3 separate regions of the Homo sapiens genome follow, and regions 1 and 2 are each linked to region 3. Evidence: promoter capture Hi-C in 16 types of primary human blood cells and fetal thymus (Javierre and others, 2016). All regions are on one chromosome and are shown on one strand. The core of a region is centred on a gene start or on the middle of the fragment in contact, and the rest is flanking DNA. Distances in the headings are between cores, read along the strand shown. Region 1 overlaps CTSC (cathepsin C). Region 2 overlaps LOC101929174 (a long non-coding RNA gene). Region 3 holds the start of CHORDC1 (cysteine and histidine rich domain containing 1).

Evidence for each region. Contacts are between HindIII fragments. The CHiCAGO score rates a contact against its expected background, and 5 or more counts as called.
Region 1: a fragment that was not itself captured here is called in contact with the fragment with the promoter of CHORDC1 in region 3 in 1 of 17 cell types (naive CD8 T cells); the score reaches 5.6 in naive CD8 T cells.
Region 2: a fragment that was not itself captured here is called in contact with the fragment with the promoter of CHORDC1 in region 3 in 1 of 17 cell types (naive CD8 T cells); the score reaches 5.3 in naive CD8 T cells.

Annotation. Positions count from the first base shown.
Region 1 is chr11:88,311,365-88,314,914 of GRCh38, forward strand. It overlaps CTSC (cathepsin C), which reads right to left. Exons shown (of 7, transcript NM_001814.6): 3 at 1,024-1,190. Among named protein-coding and RNA genes, the nearest start is that of CTSC, 25 kb to the right of the region's middle. RefSeq lists a silencer at 1,524-1,724. The HindIII fragment of the contact is 7,019 bases long and covers 1-3,550 here.
Region 2 is chr11:88,339,444-88,343,094 of GRCh38, forward strand. All of the region lies in intron 1 of LOC101929174 (a long non-coding RNA gene), which reads left to right. Among named protein-coding and RNA genes, the nearest start is that of CTSC, 3.5 kb to the left of the region's middle. The HindIII fragment of the contact is 3,535 bases long and covers 1-3,324 here.
Region 3 is chr11:90,221,613-90,225,038 of GRCh38, forward strand. CHORDC1 (cysteine and histidine rich domain containing 1) reads right to left here and starts at 1,437. Exons shown (of 11, transcript NM_012124.3): 1 at 1,279-1,437. The coding sequence starts at 1,342. It overlaps LOC124902812 (a long non-coding RNA gene), which reads left to right and starts at 1,547. Exons shown (of 2, transcript XR_007062978.1): 1 at 1,547-1,808. The HindIII fragment of the contact is 11,072 bases long and covers 1-3,426 here.

The DNA of each region.
Region 1 (3,550 bases), core at 805-3,304, 1.9 Mb before region 3:
CCTTTAAATCATCTCTCTTACCTCTGTGCTGCAGTCATTCATTACTAATGTTGCCTGGCTTGGGATGATTTGTACATGTACATTTTTAGTGGCTTTTACAACTACATAAAACAGAAAAAGTAACAACATTTCATCTCTTCCTTCCAAAACTAATAAAGTCTAATTTGAAATCTCCTGTTTGTGTGGTTTAGTCAGTTATAGATTTAATTTAACAGTAAACATTAACTGCAGTTTATAGTCTGAATTGTGTCCCCCTCAAAATTCATACGTTGAAATTCTAACCCCCTGTATCACAGCCATATGACTGTATTTGGAGACAGAGCTTTAAAGAGGTCATTAAGGTAAAATTAGGTCATATGGGTGGGCCCCAATCCAATATGACTGATGCCCTTATAAGAAGAGGACATTAGGACAATCAGAAAAGACTGTTTAGGAGCCCAGTAAGCAAGCAGACATCTGCAAGCCAAGGAGTGTGGCCTTGGAAGAAACCAAACCTGACAACACCTCAATCTTGGACTTCTAGCCTCCAAAACTGTGAAAAAACAACCTTCCTTAAGCCACCCAGTCTGTGGTACTTTGTTATGGCAGCCCTCGCAAACCAACAGGCTGCATAAATACTAAGAACTTTGATTTCAGTTATTTATGGTCTTGTTTAAAAGTTGCCCAATTAGTATCACCTATACTTGTTGCAGCATAAACATACGTATCTACTTGTATCATGCAACATGTTATTACATGGCAATAAGCAAAATGGCTTTTCTTTATTAGTAATTTGCAATTCTGTGGTCCATTACATGATTTCATTTAAAGTAATCATTGGTCCATTACTTTTGGAACACTTTGAAAAAATACTCTCAATAATGTTGGTCAATTTATTTTTCCAGTAAGGTTTTACATAGCATGCCTAATATTTCTAAGCCAAAGATATTTTGTATAATCAAACTAAAATTCCAAAAATGTACACACATATTCATATATACTATAAAACAAAACTAAACGTATGTCTCATTTGTAGCAACTCACTTTTCCTGAGAATTCTTAAGGTGTGCTATGTTGACATACACATTCTCAGAGGCAGTTCCCACCTTCTTTCCGGTGAAACAAGCCCAGTTCCGGCCCAACACATCATGCACCCACCCAGTCATTGTCTCGTTGCAGTAAGTGGTCACCTTGCTGCCCTCTTCTTTATACTGCAAACAAATAAGAGAAAAGAAAACCAAGTAAAATCTGTCTTCAAATTTCAGGTCCATTTCCATGGCTCTCATTCACAGTAAATGTGCCCCTTTCAAAACAAAAACTTCACCCTGAGAGGTTACACTGTAAGAATTATTCTAGAAAAAGAAGACATACAAACTTTTCTGTGGTTAGCACTGTTGGCCACCAAACAAAATGTATATAACAAAACACTTCCAGGAATGAAGGCCAAGGGAAAACAAAACAAAACAAAACAAAAAAGAAAGAAAACAGACCATCTGGCATATTCAAGGCATTTTTCAAAAGTGACTTCACAGTCCTTACAAGAAGACTATGAGGATGCAGATGATAATAACCACATTTTACCAAGGACAAAAGGAGCTCAGCTCAGAGATAAGGAGCTCCTACCAAGGCAACAGGCGAAGTGGCAGAAACAGAATTCTCCTCAGTCTATCACACTACAATTTTCCACTGAGACAAGGGCCACACTAGGAAACTACAAGAACAAATGATGAACTTTTTTTTTCCAGGGATGGAGTCTTGCTGTGTTGCCCAGGCTGGAGTGCAGTGGTGTGATCTTGGCTCACTGCAACTTGCACCTCCCAGGTTCAAGCGATTCTCTTGCCTCAACCTCCCGAGTAGCTGGGATTAAAGGTGCTTACCACCACGCCTGGCTAATTTTTGTATTGTTTAGTAGAGACGGGGTTTTGCCATGTTGGCCAGGCTGGTCTTGAACTCCAGACAAGTGATCCACCCACCTCGGCCTCCCAAAGTGATGGGATTACAGGTGTGAGCCACAGTGAAACAGAATCCTTTTTTTCTGTCAATCTCTCAATTTATTAGCATATTCTGATCATGAGGGGGCTAAAGTAACCTGAGTATTAAATATATTCTTTACACTTTATTTCAGTAATATGGCCTTTTGTCTTATTTCAGTGTTAGAACTGAAAAATAACTATTATTTTTAACAGATCCAGGATTTGAACTAAGATGCTCTGGCTCCAGAGCCTAGTCACCCTCATGTTAGAACATCTCCTCATGGAGGCGGGGCACATGATCCAGGATGACTGTGTAGCATGTGGGAGACAGAAAGGGAAAATGCTGTGCTAAATTTCTGAGGAGAGACTTGGGCACAGACAATTTCAGGCTCTGACTTAATTTAATAGAAAAGACTATTTGTAGAACCTTGGGCAAGATTTTACGAGGCTTTAGTTCTGTTGCCTGTAAAATATGGAAAGTAGAAAAAAAAATCCTCAAAGGTATAAACATTCTGGGATTCCATGATCAAATGCAGGGTTTGGTAAACACTTCCTATAATGGCCAGACAGCAAAGACCACTAGGCTTTGCAGGCCACTTAGTTCTCTTGCAACTGTTCAACTCTGCCCTTGTAGCACAAAAGCCATCAAAAGCAAGACTCAAACAAATTGGCACAGGGGTCAACTATGTTTCTATAAAATTTCTGTTTACAAAAACAGACAGTAGGGTGGTTTTGGCTCCAGAGGTTGTAGTTTGTGGACTCCTGCTCTACTCTAATACACATTATTTCACTTGTTTGCAGAGGTTGGCAAACTTCTTTTTGAAGGACTAGATAGTAAATATTTTAGGCTTGAAGGCTGGAAGACCTCAGTCACAACTACTCAACCTAAAAGGTGCAAAGGGAATACATAAATGAATGAGCTAGGCTGTGTTCCAATAAAACTTTACTTACAAAAAGAGGTTTGTAGTTTGCCAACCCCCAGTTTAGAGAAATGTGTGGGCTAAACTACACTTAAAGTTAAAATTACCTTATTGCATCTGACTCTCTGAATTCAAATCATATTTAGGGGGAGAGTTAAAAATGTATGGCTTTAGAATCCAGAAAAACTGGACTTGAATTGTGGGAATCACCACTCACTGTGTTATATAGCACAGGAAAAGTTACTCTGGGCTACTCATATCCGCATCTTGCTTTTATCTTTGGTGATATTCATGATATTCTCTTTTTTTCAGACAGAGTCTCACTCTGTTGCCCAGGCTGGAGTACACTGGCGAGATGTCGGCTCACTGCAACCTCCGCCTCCCAGGTTCAAGCGATTCTCCTGCCTCAGCCTCCCAAGTAGCTGCGACTACAGGCATGTGCTACCAGGCCTGGCTAATTTTTGTATTTTTAGTAGAGATAGGGTTTCACCATGTTGGCCAGGCTGGTCTCAAACTCCTGACCTGAGGTGATCTGCTTCCTTCAGCCTCCCAAAGTGCTGGGATTACAGGTGTGAGCCACTGTACCCAGCTGGTTGTTCATGATATTCTGGATCCCATATGTCTGCTTCTAGTGAAGAATGGCTTCACTAGCATGAGTTCAGTTCCCAACTACTCAAG
Region 2 (3,651 bases), core at 307-2,806, 1.9 Mb before region 3:
TGGATTCATTTTAAAATTGGGAAATGGAGATTCAGAGAGTTAAATCACTTGCTGAATGTCATATTGCCACTTAGTAAGATTTAAGAATGAACCTCAGGCACATTGATTTTCAGTTTAGTTTATTTCTACTAATCTAATAATTCCCATACTGTTCTCTCTCAAAAATAACTACTAACTCTCCATTCCACGCACACACAAAAAATTGATTCTCAAACTGATCAGACCCCAAATCCTTTACTTTCTGAAATGAAATTAATATATAAACTGCTTACACACTTAATAAAAAGAAATGTAATGCCAAATGTAATATAAAGAAGAAATCAGATATTTTAAATATATTTCTAGTATAATAAGTTATATCCCATCATGTAAAATGTTCAAGTATGACTGTGTTGGAAAACATAATGAGGCACTCAGATACTTGCTCTTCACACTTCTGTAACCACCCAATGGATTCACCTGGCCTGCTGCCTAGACAGAGCCAATTTATCAAGACAGGGGAATTGCAATGGAGGAAGAGTAATTCATACAGAGCCGGCTGTGGGGGAGACGGGAGTTTTATTATCACTCAAATCAGTCTCCCCGAGCATTCAGGGATCAGAGTTTTCAAAGATAATTTGGTGGGTAGGGGCTTGGGAAGTGGGGAGTGCTGATTGGTTAGGTTGGAGATGGAATCATAGGGGGTCTAAGTGAGTTTTTCTTGCTATCTTCTGTTCCTGGGTGGGATGGCAGATATGGTTGAGCCAGATTGCTGGTCTCAGTGGTGTCAGCTGATCTATGGAGTGCAGGGTCTGTAAAATATCTCAAGCACTGATCTTAGATTTTACAATAGAGATGTTATCCCCAGAAGCAACTTGGAGGGTGGGAGGGTGCAGACTCTTGGAGCCAGAGGCCACATGACCCCTAAACTGTAATTTCTAATCTTGTAGCTAATTTGTTAGTCCTGCGAAGGCAGACTGGTCCCCAGGCAAGAAGGGAGTCTTTTTGGGAAAGGGCTATTATCAATTTTGTTTCAGAGTCAAACCATGAACTGAATTACTTCCCAAAGTTTGTTCCACCTATGCCCAGGAATGAAAAAGGACAGCTTAAAGATTAGAAGCAAGATGGAGTCGATTAGGTCTGATTTCTTTCACAGTTGTAATTTTTGCAAAGGTGGTTTCACTTCTATGTAAAATTGTAGAATCGTGGTAAATGTGATAGGAACTTTTTTCTGAGAGCACAAATGATTTCTGATGAGTTATAACTCAAATACCTTATCAATTAATCACTCAAACACCATACCAAAGTTGTTGATGTTGGACAATTCTTGGTCAAATTCCCAGGAGAACAAAGTAGAATTTTCTGTTGAAGGTTTATCAAGAGGTTGCATTCCCAAAAATTCAGTATATGTTAAAATTATATAAAACAAAAGTGAGCTTATGTGCAAAACATGGTCTGTCAGTAGGCTCCCATCATTAAAAGCAGGTTTACAGAGAGGCAGCATTACTTGGCAGTGGTTCTCAAAGTGTAGCCTAGGACCAGGGACATCAGCATCTGTCTTAGTCTGTTTTCTGTTGCTAGAACTGTACCTGAGACTCGGTAATTTAAAACAAAGAAAATTATTTTTTATAGTTCTAGAGACAGGTAAGTCCAAGGTCAAGAGGCCCCATCGAAGGGGGCCCTTCTTGCTGGTTGAGACTCTTTGCAGAATCCCAAGGTAGTACAGGGTATCACGTGGCAAAGGGGGTCATGAGAGATGGCCAAACTAGTGCTTATTACAGACCCACCCTCATGATAACTAATCCTTGATAATTCCATAATCCATTAATCTATTAACCCATGATAGATTCATCCATTCATGAGGGCACTGCCAATCACTTCTCAAAGGTCCCACCTCTCGACACATGACTTTTGGGGGACAACCTATGTTCAAACCACAGCATTCTGTCCCTGACCCCCAGAATTCATGGCCTTCTCACAATTCAAAATACAGTCATTCCATCCTAGTAGTCCCAAAAGACTGAATTTGTTCCAGCACCAACTCAAAAGTCTAAAGTGTCATCTGGGAGTTTGTGAAATCAAAACAAGTTATCTACTTCCTAGATACAATGGTGGGACAGGTATAAGGTATACACTCCCTTTCCAAAAGAGACAAACAGGCCAGAAGAAAGAAGTAACAGGCCCAAGCAAGTCAAAAACTCAGCAGAGAAGACTTAAATTTTAAGGCTGGAGAATAATCTTTCTTGATTCCATGTACAGCATCTTGTGCACATTGGGGGATGGGGTATTTCAGGAGGCCTCAAGGCACCCTGGTGCCCTCAGCTTTCCCAGGCAGGTATTGCATGCTGCTGGTGGCTCTACTGTTCTGGGGTCCTGGTGGCAGTCTGGCTCTTACAGCTGCATTAGGCATTGCCCTTAGGGGGGCTCTATGCAACAACCCCAGTTCCACTGTTCCACTTCGTATTGCCCTAGTGGAAGCTCTCTGCAGTAGCTCTACCCTCAGACAGTCCAACACATTCTTCAAAATCTAGGTGGAGGCTGCCAGGCCTCCACAGCTCTTGCATTCTATGCACCTGCAGAATTAGTACCACATGGATACTGCCATGGTTTACCACTTGTACATCCTAGAGCTGCAGGTTAATCTGCACCTGTGGCTGCTTGAACCACAGCTGGGGGCGCTGAGGAGCAGTGTGCTGGAACGCAGGGAGTAGAGACCCAAAGCAGCCCTGGGCAGCAGTCCATCCCCGGAATTATTCTGCCCTCTTAGAGCTCAGGGCCTATGAGGAAGGGGCAGCCTCAAAGATCCCAGAAATGCCTCTGGGGTTTTTAATTTCATTGTCATGGATAGCCTTTGGCTTCATTCTATCCATGGTGACCTCTTTAGCAATCTCTTGACCATACCCAAACACCCCTTTCACTGTTAAGGTGGCCAGGCTTCAAATTTTCTAATGTTTTTCTATTCTGTTTTTTCTTATATCTTACTATAAGTAGTTAAAAGAAGCCATTTAGTAGCCTAAATACTTTGCTGCTTAGATATTCCTTCCACCAGATATCCTAGTTTATCACTGTTAAGTTCTGCATTTCATAAAGTCCTAGGACATGGACAGAATTTAGCCAAGGTCTTAGCCAGTTTATAGCAGCGATGGCCTTTACTCCAGTTTCCAATACCTTGTTCCTCATTTCCATCTGGGACCTCATCGGAATGGTCTTTTCTATTCATATTTCTATCAGCATTCTGATCATGACCACTTAAATGATCTCTAAGGAGTTTCAGACTTTCTCTAGCTTTTTGTTTTACTAAACCCTCACCAGAATCAGCCTTAATGCTCCATTCACAGTGATACAAGCTTTTTCTAGCGTGCTCATCCAAATTCTTCCAGACTGTTCATTACCCAGTTTCAAAGCCATGTTTATATTTTCAGGTATTCACTATTAGCAACAGCCCTACTCCTTTGTACCAATTTTCTGTGTTAGTTGATTTTCTGTTGTTATAACTGAATAACTAAGACTGGGTAATTATAAAGAAAAGACTTTTACTTCTTACAGTTCTGGAGGCTAGGAAGTTCATGGTCAGGGGGCCACAACTGTTGAGGGTCTCCTTGCTGGTGGCGACTCTCCAGAGTCTAGAGGTGGTGCAAGCCATCACACGGTGAGGAAGCTCACGAGAAATGG
Region 3 (3,426 bases), core at 187-2,686:
ATAGGCTGCCAACACCAAAGGGCTTTAAAATCGTTTCTCGATTTTGTCATCGACTGAAATCTCACAATTTTCCTCATGAGTAGCATCATATTTGCATCATAAAAATGTCAGTGGCGGTAACTTGAGTATTGCATAGGTTGGATTTTCCTTTTCCTTAAAACTCTGTATCAATGGTCTTATTTTAAATAACGCTATCAATTTACCTGTGTGCCAAAAATAAGTATTTCAAACATCTCAGAGGTGAAGAGTTCAAAAGGCATCAGTTTTCATCTCCTCCACAATAATGAAGGATGTTATTAATACAACCTCATTGAACTGAGCTTCTCTATCAAATGGGTCTAATTAACATTACATGCGTCCCAGGGTGGTTATGAAGATTAAATAAGATAAAGCAATAATGGCTGGCATGCAGAAAATATAAACTAAATGCTAGTTCAATCTGAAAACGTGTTGTCACTTCTCACGATACGCAAGGAATCATCTCACTTCTTTGTCAATCAAAATTTCAATTCACTGATCATTTCCCGTCCTTCACCTAATAGTCATTTTCGCTTTGGATCCTTAACTCGACATCTAGGTGCTGTAGATGACATTCACTCATTTTATACGGGAGTAGGCATGGTAGTAAAACGTGGAGGCCACAAGAAGAACAAGCAACAAATGCCGCTAGTAATAAAAAGATAACTAACGTACCACCAGGATGAACCTATCAAAACAGCGTGAAGATACAGAGTAATGTCCCTTACCAAGAACACTTGTAAGAGGTTTGTAACAGCGGATCGACTGAACACAAACTTCTACAAGGCAGAGCTTACATGCTAGGACAACCCGCTGCTCATCCCGGCCACCTCTCCCTCTCGCGCAGGCAATCACAGCCATCACTACTTCGGGAACTACAAAGCAAGCTCACCAGTACCTCGTTAATTTTTGCTTCCCCAGAGACTGGAGGGCCAGAGGAGAAACGTGTTCGTTCTAAATTCCAGGCGACTTAAAAGGAGTGCGGGGACGACGGGGGAAACACGTGGATCCATGGGAGCGTCTCTCTCCGCAGTGGCAGAGGACAGTCAGGCGCCGGGGCCGGGCGCTCGCCAAGGGAACGCGGCGCAACAGAGGGGCGGCCGGCGGGCTGCGCGGGCAGCCAAGGGAGGCCCAGGAGGGGCATGGACCTGGGGCCGCGCGAGGACGGCTGCAGGAGATCCGCGGACACCCTCCGGCCCAAAGGGCCTCCCCTGCTGATGAGGTGGAGGGGAGGGAGGGCTGGCGGCGCGTTCCTCTTACCGTCGGAATTGGTCTCAGGATCGAAGCGCTGACCGCAGCCCCGGTTGTAGCACAGCAAGGCCATTTTCTTTTCCCACCGTCACAGGCAAGGCCCAAACACCGGGAACGGCAAGAGGATGCGTTTGCCACTCCCGTGTCGCTAGCACCGGTCTGACGACTGAGGCGGCTACCGGCTTCCGGAAACGATCCGTTGCGTTTCAGGAACCTTCGCGAATTTTCCGGTCGCGCAGGCGCAGAGGAGAAGGGACGAGGCGGAGGTAGCGGCGGGAGGCTGGCACTAGCCCGGGCCACGATAGGTCGGACTACAGCTGGTAGCAACTGGGGGTCGGAAGTGGAGCCCAGACAACAGCGGAGGAGAAATTTCCGGGGCAGAAAATGAAGGTGTCCGAGAGACTGACAATTCTCTTCTGACTTCCTCAGTGCTAACTGGCTTTGGGTATCTCCTGCAGCAAAGTGGCCGCCCCGCCCTCTCATCCCCTGCGACCCAGCACCCTTCTTCCTTGCCTTGAGGCTGCGCCTTAGACAGCCCGGTGGGTATCTGTTTACCCCTTAGCACTAAGGGATAAGTGCACAGTAAGTGCAGAATCATACAGTGTTTCCAAATCCTCAGGGTAGACGTGTGAGCTTAGTAAATGAGAGGAATAGCGGACGAACCTCTCCGTGTGTTTGTGTCTCGAGTGCCCTCATCTCAGGAGCAATTTTAATAACTTAACAGTTGCGGTCACATTACTTTGAAAATACAAAAAACGTAGAAATCAGAGTAGCAAAGAAAATTATGGATCTGATGCTGTGCCAGAATTGATCACAGTTGCTCTAAAGCCCTGGGGTAATAGTTAATATTTCATGTGAGCCTCCACTTAAACGATTTATCAATACTCAGTACACCACTCTTGGAACAGCTAGTAAAACTTCAGGTGCATTATAAAAAGTACAGTAATGCATTGGCTTCAACTTGCATATTTCCCAAACATGGGCGTTTGCAAGAAAAGCAAACACTTTTTGATAACATATACTGAAGGATCTTAAAATAAGATCAGCAGCTTATAAGTGAACCTAAAAATCTATACACTGTTTCCATTGATCTCAAGGTTATTTAGAGATCTGCTCACGTCCTCCTACCCCTAAAGACTTTTTAGTTTTTCATATTCTCTTTCTCTTCTTCTACCTAGAAGTATTAAATTTTCATATTGTGATCCACCATAGATAGGTATGTTTTCTTCATTTAACCTAACGTGAGTATTTTTCTATTTTGTTTCATAGTCATTGTTACAAATGACGGAGTATTCTGTTGAATAAATGCACTGTAATTTAACCTTTCTCTAATTTCCCCAACTTTATTATATATAAGTTACAGTGCTCAACCTGTGTATTGTTTTTCTTATTTCGAATTTCCCCCTTTAGGAAAATTTTTGGAAAGCGACAGTTCTGGGGTAAAGGGCATAAGGCTTTTTAAATAACTTTAAGATTTTAAAGATATATAGAGCCAATTGCTTTCCGAAAGGTGGTACCAATTTACAATTGCACCGGCTGTGAATGTAATAGACCGTAGAAATTGATCATACACAATTGGAAATGAGTAAGTGGAGAGCTCTAAAAAGTTTTAGTTGTGACCAAATCTGTTGTCTTGAGTATCCTAGTATCAATGCAACATTACCAGGATTGTTAGTGAACTAAACCTTTTAAATAATTTTAATGTTTATTTCTAGTTTTTCATCTGTAGCATTTTACAATCAGAATATAATTGCTTATGGTAGATAATTTGGAAAACGCAGAAGTATACTAAGAACAAAGTCAACAATAATTCCACCACCCAGCAATAAGTACTGAATGGCTAAAATAACTCTTTGGTAAATTTATTTTCAGTGTTTCCTGACACCCCAAGCATTTATAGATATATATGTTTAAAAAGAGTCGTGTTATATATAGGAGTTTATGTTCCTCCCTTGGGTATTTTGAGAAACTATAAAATTAAATCATTCTTATGATTAAGAAAAACAGTGTTACAGCAACAGCCTGTTTCAATCCCACCTCCACTTACATTTCCATTCCAACACTTCAGTGCTGACTAACACCCACTGTTTGAAAAACTTTCTAGAATTTACATGTATATTTTATATACACTTTGAATATATCTTCCCTTCCTTCTTT